3 separate regions of the Homo sapiens genome follow, and all the other regions are linked to region 1. The links are contacts of gene promoters, found by promoter capture Hi-C in human tissues and cell types (Jung and others, 2019). All regions are on one chromosome and are shown on one strand. Each heading gives the region's core, a stretch centred on a gene start or on the middle of the fragment in contact. The rest is flanking DNA. Distances are from core to core; before and after follow the strand shown.

Evidence for each region. The method cuts DNA at HindIII sites, captures the fragments that hold promoters and counts their contacts. A contact is called where the count stands out against the background at its distance.
Region 2: the fragment with the promoter of D2HGDH here is called in contact with the fragment with the promoter of FARP2 in region 1 in 1 of the 25 tissues and cell types used here (spleen).
Region 3: a fragment that was not itself captured here is called in contact with the fragment with the promoter of FARP2 in region 1 in 1 of the 25 tissues and cell types used here (lymphoblastoid cells).

The regions. Positions count from the first base shown.
Region 1 is chr2:241,355,035-241,357,556 of GRCh38, forward strand. It overlaps FARP2 (FERM, ARH/RhoGEF and pleckstrin domain protein 2), which reads left to right and starts at 1,251. Exons shown (of 27, transcript NM_014808.4): 1 at 1,251-1,354. RefSeq lists a silencer at 1,039-1,588. The HindIII fragment of the contact is 18,573 bases long and covers 1-2,522 here.
Region 2 is chr2:241,733,363-241,735,884 of GRCh38, forward strand. D2HGDH (D-2-hydroxyglutarate dehydrogenase) reads left to right here and starts at 1,268. Exons shown (of 10, transcript NM_152783.5): 1 at 1,268-1,333; 2 at 1,771-2,154. The coding sequence starts at 1,863. RefSeq lists silencers at 795-844, 885-1,934, 1,945-2,054 and an enhancer at 2,095-2,334. The HindIII fragment of the contact is 17,644 bases long and covers 1-2,522 here.
Region 3 is chr2:241,617,371-241,619,892 of GRCh38, forward strand. All of the region lies in intron 2 of THAP4 (THAP domain containing 4), which reads right to left. Among named protein-coding and RNA genes, the nearest start is that of THAP4, 19 kb to the right of the region's middle. RefSeq lists an enhancer at 163-282. The HindIII fragment of the contact is 4,913 bases long and covers 1-2,522 here.

The DNA of each region.
Region 1 (2,522 bases), core at 1-2,500:
CACAGCACCATAGGAGGAGTCTCTTAAGTGCCCGGGTGTTTCCTGAAGTTAATTATTCCCTCAACAGCCACATGGTGACAGTGGGTGACAGGGCCGGGCTAGGAGAGCACGATGGGTAGGGTCTTGAAGAACACATAGGAGTTCAATGAACTTCTCAAGAGAAGGGAAGTGTGCCACAGCAAGTCAGTCTTCCATTCTCGGGTGGGGGTCCCTAGGCCAGAGGAAGGCCGTCCTGGCCGCCACCACGGAGCAGCCTGTCTCAGCCTTAGCACAGCCTCGCGCGATCCTTCGATGATCCCCTTCGGTCCCTGTAGTCCCACGAGGGATGCAATGCGTTGGAGGAAGGAGGAGGCTGGCAGCCAGGGACTGAGCCAAAGGGTGCAAGGACAGCCGGCAAGGCCCGGGCCAAGACCTATCCCCGCCCAGCGAGCCAGGCCTCGCCCAGCACCTATCCGCGCCCAGCAAGCCTAGGCCTCGCCCAGCACCTATCCGCGCCCAGCAAGCCTAGGCCTCGCCCAGCACCTATCCGCGCCCAGCGAGCCTAGACCTCGCCCAAGACCTAGCCCCGCCCAGCGAGCCGACTCCCCGCCCAGGACCTAGCCCCGCCCAGCGAGCCGACTCCCCGCCCAGGACCTAGCCCCGCCCAGCGAGCCGACTCCCCGCCCAGGACCTAGCCCCGCCCAGCGAGCCGACTCCCCGCCCAGGACCTAGCCCCGCCCAGCGAGCCGACTCCCCGCCCAGGACCTAGCCCCGCCCAGCGAGCCGACTCCCCGCCCAGGACCTAGCCCCGCCCAGCGAGCCGACTCCCCGCCCAGGACCTAGCCCCGCCCAGCGAGCCGACTCCCCGCCCAGGACCTAGCCCCGCCCAGCGAGCCGACTCCCCGCCCAGGACCTAGCCCCGCCCAGCGAGCCGACTCCCCGCCCAGGACCTAGCCCCACCCAACGAGCCGACTCCCCGCCCAAGATCTAGCCCCGCCCAGCGAGCCTTGGCTTCGCCTAGGACATTGCCTCGCTCAGCAAGCCGACGCCCCGCCCAACGAGCCGAGCGCTGCACAGATTTATATCCTACGCAGCTGCCTGCCTGCTCCCGCCCCTTCTCCGTCCGTTCACCAATCAGAACTCGATCTTGCGCTTTCAGGCCGCGGGACGGGAAGGCTCCGCCCTGGCGCCCCGCAGGCCAATCGACTGCGCGTCCGCGTCGCGGGGGCGGGGTCAGGGCGGGGCGCGCTGCGCGGGGGCTGCCGGCGGGCAGTTGGGAGCAGGCGACGCCGACGCGAGTCTGGCGGCTGCTGCTTGCGACTGCGGAGGCCGGGCGAGGCCGGTGAGGACGCGGCGGGCGAGCGAGAGGCCGAGGGTGAGGACGTGAAGCGGCCTGGGCGCGTGGGGCAGGGGTGGGCCTCTCCGGGTGGGCGGCGAAGCCCGAGGCCCGAGGCGAGAGGCCCAGGCGGGGGGGGCGCTGAGGCCGCGGTCCACCAGAGATGGTCCCGCCCGGCCTCTGAAGGCCATCGTGAGGCGGCTGGAGCTCCTAGGCGGGTCCGGGTTAGAGGAGCGTCCGTCTGTAGGGAGCCTGCCGCGTGGGGGCAGGCGGGGCGGTGGGCCGGGGAGTGGCCCGCGTGGACTCCCGGGTTGAGGGGTGCCGCGTGGAGGAGGCCGGTGGGGCTGTAGACCGGGGAGTGTCCCGCGTGGACTCGCGGGTTGAGTTGTGCCCCGTGGAGGCCGGCAGGGCCGTGGGCCGGGGAGTGTCCCATCCCGGAAGGACACCCCAGAGTGGGCCATAGGGACCCGCAGGGTATGGGCCTGGAGGTGCCTGGTGGAGGCATTTTGAGCCGTTTGCCTTTTTAGCATTTCTTTAAATTGTATCTTAAAGGTGGGAATCAAGTGTTAGGTGTTAATATTTTTACTCCACTAAGGGCTAGAAATACTCATAAGCCAGTGGGTAGCCTTTGGGAAACCCATGAAAACTGGGGACCAGAATATGGCCCAGTACATTACACACCCGAATTACGGGCACCTTTTCCGTTTACGCTATGGCAGCAACCCCTGGCCTATCATGTGCCATTAATGGATGTGAAAAGCAGAAATTAGAACAAGGCATCATTGAAGGAAAGATTGTCAATACATAGTGTTAAAAAGGGATGGGCAAATTTAAAACCCAAGGCCAAATCTTTAAAGGGTGGTTTTTCTCTCTGGGTTTTTGTTTTTGTTTTGTTTCCGTGGGATATTTTTGTCTGGGCCACTGTGTAAATGTTTGATAACCCTGAGGTGGCAGTGGGTTAGCGTGTTGGTCTTGTGTAGACTGCCTTATAACAGGCGACACAGATTTTCTCAGTACCAGAGAGATGGGAGAGGACATTTGAGGTAGGGAAGCATGGAGTAACCTTTACTTGTAGGCCAAATATAATTTAAATTTTCTACATCTGCTTGTTGAAAGTTTTGTTTTGTTTTGTTTTTTGAGGTCCTTAAAGGTTTAGGAAGCACTTCATGCTCGTTATTTATTCAGTTTTCCAAAACTCTTCAGAGAC
Region 2 (2,522 bases), core at 18-2,517, 380 kb after region 1:
CTCCCACACTCATCTGCAGAGCAAGGGCCAGCCAGGTAGGAAGGGCCAGGTGGATGTCTCCTTTCCAGGGTTGTATGAATGATTCACCTGGGAAGAAGGTGAGTGGCCTCTGGGGATGTGGTTAAGGAGGACAGGAATGACTCCTTGCAACTGCTGCTCCAGAGCCTCATCACCAGGACAAATCCAGCTCGCCGGTTTTCTGTGTGACTACCAGGACCCATCTGCTGTCACGGGCGTAGCCTCCACCTCTTGCACAGCTCCGCAGTCCTGCCTCGGGCCAAGTGTGGTCTCCTGCTCTCTGCCCTCATCTGCTCAGAGATTGGCATCCTCTGCACCCGCTAGGGTTCTATGGAATTGGGTGAGCTGAAGTAACAAGTGCTTTGGGAGGCCGACGCGGGCGGATCGCTTGAGTCCAGGAGTTCGAGACCAGCCTGGGCAGCACATGAGACCTCATCTCTACAAAAATACAACAACAACAAAAAATTAGCCGGGTGTGGTGGTGCACGCCCGTAGTCCCAGCTACTTGGGTGGCCGAGGTGGGAGGATGGTTTGAGCTCGGGAGGCAGAGGTTGCAGTGAGCTGAGATCAACCCCAGAACTCCAGCCTGGGCAACAGAGCTAGACCCTGTCTCAAAAAAACACAAAACAAGTGCTGGCGATGCCTCAGGCAGGGGATCCCAGGCCGGGAGGCTCCTCGGGACAGCAGTTACTGCGTCAGGAGGGCAGGAGCTCCCCAGGTGTGCAAAGGGTTTGAGGGCACGGAGGGCTGAACAGGCAGAAGGGACAGGGAGGCAAGAAAACACCTGCAGGAGGCAGCTGCCCCCTAAGCTAAGGCTGGGGACCCAGGAGGGGTGGTCCGTGCAGGAGCTGGGGAGGCCGCTGGGGAAAGGGGCGCCCCCTGGGCTCGGCCTCGGAGGAGCGGGCCGGCCCCCAGGTCCCTCGGCCGAGCCCACGTCCCGGGCCTCGTTCTGGAGAACCCTCCAGCTGCTGCTTGGGCGTCTTGGGCTGCGCTCAGCCTAGTCCCTTCTCTACCTGGAGGGATGCGCCCGACAGCCGGCGCGCCGGAGGCCCTCAGGAAACGCAGGACGAGGCGGTGGCCGTCGAGCCTCCGGTGCCAGTCGGGGCGGGGCTTGGACGGCGGGGCGGGGACTGTAGGCGCGCAGGGCTGGGCCTGGAGGGCAGGCGGGGCGGGGCCCGTTAGGCGCGCGGGGCGGGGCTTCGGCCGCTGGGCGGAGCCGTCAATGCGCAGGCGCGGCGTCGCCCCGCCCACTCCGGCTCGGCGGCTCTGGGCCTGCGGCGGGCGCTGCGGGTTGGAGCTCGGGACGTGATCGTGGGTGCGTGCGCGCGGCCGCGCGGAGCGCTGGGCTGAGGGTCCCGGTCTGCGGTTCAGCCGCGGGTCGGGGTGGCGGGGCGCGATCTCGGGCGCCGTCAGCCAGTCGGTGCCTGTGGGGGGAGGGGGACGGCGCTGCAGCTCGTCACGTGACCGCGTGGAACACGCGCGCGCGTCCGCGGGATCCCCTCGGGGGGCGAGCTCGGAGGAACGGGGTCCTGGGCAAGGTCCCGGCGAGGCCGCCCCGAGCCTGCGCGTCGCTAAGTCCAGGCCTGCTGCGTGGGGCTTCGCGCGCTCGCGGGGTTGCGGCCCGGGCAGGGGGAGGGCCCGGGTGCTCGGAGCCTTCCCTTCGCTGCCCTCCTGCCCCCTCCCTGCTTCTGCAAGCGTGTTTCAATTTGTACAACGTGCATAAAACATGAAATTACCCTTGGCCACTTCCAGGCGCGCAGCCAGCGGCTCCCTGCCCTTCCCCTCCGGGCCCTGAGTACCGGCCCCCCACCAAGGAGGAGCCCGAGGTCTCCGTCCCGGCGGCGATGCTGCCCCGTCGGCCTCTGGCGTGGCCCGCGTGGCTGTTGCGGGGTGCTCCGGGAGCCGCGGGTTCTTGGGGTCGGCCGGTTGGCCCCCTGGCCCGCAGAGGCTGCTGCTCCGCCCCGGGGACCCCCGAGGTGCCGCTGACCCGGGAGCGCTACCCCGTGCGGCGCTTGCCGTTCTCCACGGTGTCTAAGCAGGACCTGGCCGCCTTTGAGCGCATCGTGCCCGGCGGGGTCGTCACGGACCCGGAAGCGCTGCAGGCTCCCAACGTGGACTGGTTGCGGACGCTGCGAGGTGGGTGAGGCTTGGGAAGCTGCGGCGTTTCCGCGTCCCTGCTCCGCTGCGCCTTCCCGTGGAGGCTTCAAAGCGGGCTGAGAACAACCTGGATGGGGGTGCCAGCCCCTGGCTGCGCTGAGAGGGGCGTGTGCACCGCCACAGGCTGCTGGAATGAATGACCACGAACGAGTCGCTTAGAACAACCCAAGTTTTGTTGTTGTTGTTGTTTTGTTTTTTCTTTTTTTTAAGACGGAGTCTCACTCTGTCGCCAGGCTGGAGTGCAGTCACGGAGTTTCACTCTGTCGCCAGGCCGGAGTGCAGTGGCGCGACGTCGGCTCACTGCCACCTCTGCCTCCCGGGTTCAAGCGATTTGCCTGCCTCAGCCT
Region 3 (2,522 bases), core at 12-2,511, 260 kb after region 1:
AATTTTCATGTTTTGGCCCAAGACACTGAAAGCAGGCTTACCCATCCCTAAGTTTTCTAAACTCCGGACACTCGTCAAGGTTCCTCAAGGTTGTTTTCTGCCAATTGACGGGAAATGTTTGCACCTGGCTCTTAATGGCTCTGCAGGAAGTGAATGCTAACTTTAAATGGTGCATTCTGGGAATTGTAGTTCCACTATGAAAGATCACGTCTCAGAAGAAAGTAAAAGACAATGACAGCCCAGATCACAGAATTTCAGAGCTGGAAGGAGCTTTGGAGGTTAGGTGAATTTTATGAAAGAGGGACTGGCCAGAGGTCTGGGCGGAGTGACGAGTGCGGCTTCTACCCTCAGCCTCCTCCACCAGCTACAGCAGAGGAAGGCAACACCACAGAGACAGGCACATCCTAAATGCTTTCTCTCTCCAGAGCAGTCCCTCTGGCCACCCCTGGCATGTCCTTTTCTGTCTCCTAGAGGGTGGCTGGAGACTCATCTTCACCTGGACATGGAGGCTCCAGAGACTGTCCTGTCTCCTGGCAAGCGGCCCGGGAACCCAGGACAGGAAGTGAGCAAATGCACCCACTGGGACCTGGGGACGGCTCCTTCCTGGAGCTCCCACCCTCACATCTCTTTGTGTTAGTGACACGTTGTTTCCTGCCAAGGCACACACAGAAAGGGACACTTACTGCTTAGTACAACAGGGTGCATGGAAGCTGAGGGTGCGCGGCCCGCACCAGCTGTCCCAAGGTGGGGAGGAGCTGTCCAGGAACACCGTGATATGTTTGGGTCCACTGACAAGGCATACCAGCAGGGAACTGTTGTTTTAAAGTGACATCAAGGCCCTCAACTTATCAACCATGAAACGGAAGGAGTTGCATGCCCAGGGGAAAAACAGAAATCATGATGGAGAGAAAATACAGCAAGTATTTCTATAAAATATAAAAAGGCCATAAAGTGGATACAAATAATTTGCAAATGTTATGTTTGATTTCCTCGTTAATCTGAGTCTCAATTGAAGAACTATTAGAATCTACAAGTGAATTTGATAAGATGGCCAATTACTAAAATGGGTAGCTTTCCCACACGCTAGCAATAACCGAAAAATAATGGGTGGGGAGTAAGCTTCCGGTTTCCACTCTCACATGTAAAGAGCTTAGGAGTCATATACCACAGCCTTAAAACAACAGCAAAAAACACTGAAAGAAGTGAAAATCAACAACTTTTCTTGGATCCATAAGGAAGTGAGGTCACAGATGTCTCTCCTGCCACAGAGAATAGCAGTGAGATCAGCTCACGTGGAGCAGAATCTACAGTCTACAGGGGAAGGAACTGGTGGGAACTTGATTTGGACAAAATGCTGGAGGCTGAACATGGCAGGTGTGAGAATCTCCTGGGGTCCTACATTTTCATAGGTTTCACCTCCAGGAACCCCATCAGGTTCTCCCCACGAAAAGCCAAGAAAAAAAAAAACACCTCATGTCTCTGGGATGAGGAGGGGGAGGTGACCACCTTGAAATGAGCCCAGAGCGTTCTCCAGGCAAAGGCCAGGCCTGCTCTGTAGCGAAGCTGACTTCACCAGGACCTCATCTCAGCTGGGAAGGGCATTTCACTGCTCCAGCCCCACCAGTCTTCCGTCTCACCCAAGCGGGGAGGAGAAAGGGAAAGACACGTGTGAAGGTCACGGCTCAGGGACACGGGCCACTGAAGGGCTTAAATCGAGTCACAGGCTGGAGCCTGCTTCCCCTCCCAGCCCTGCAGGCTCCAGCATAACATCCTGGGTGGGAGTGGAAAGGGCCCAGGCGCAGGCTGTGGAAGGCATGCTCGGAGAAACTCCACGACAACAGGGAGACAAAACAAGGACACTCGAGGAATTTTACAGCCACTGCAGGATTAAACACAGCCCGAGTGCCAGCCAGGTTAAGGGGATGGATGCCCTCCAAACAAGGCACACTTACTTCACCTTTCAGTCAAGCAGCACTTACTGATGGGGGATGCGTTGACAAACACGTCATGAGGCAAGTTCATCATTGTACAAACGTCACAGAGTGCACTTACCGCGTACCACGCACCTAGGCTGTATGGCACAGCCTGTGCTCCCAGGCTACACACCCCAGTGTGTTACTGAATACTGTAGGCAGTTGTAACACAGTGCCAAGGGTGTGTGTACCTAAAACACATCTAAACATAGAAAACCTACAGTAAAAATATGGCATAAGAGACAAAAAATGGTTCACCTGCATAAGGCACTTACCAGCACTGGAGTGTGCAGCATGGGCAGTTGCTCTGGGTGAGTTGGTGAGTAAGTTGGTAAGTGAGGGGTGAGGGGTGAGTGAGTCGGTGAGTGAAGGGTGAGTGAGTCGGTGAGGGGTGAGTGAGGGGTGAGTGAGTTGGTGAGTGAGGGGTGAGTGAGTCGGTGAGTGAGGGGTGCGTGAGTCGTGAGTGAGGGGTGAGTGAGTTGTGAGTCGTGAGTGAGGGGTGAGTGAGGGGTGAGTGAGGAGTCGGTGAGTGAGGGGTGAGTGAGGGGT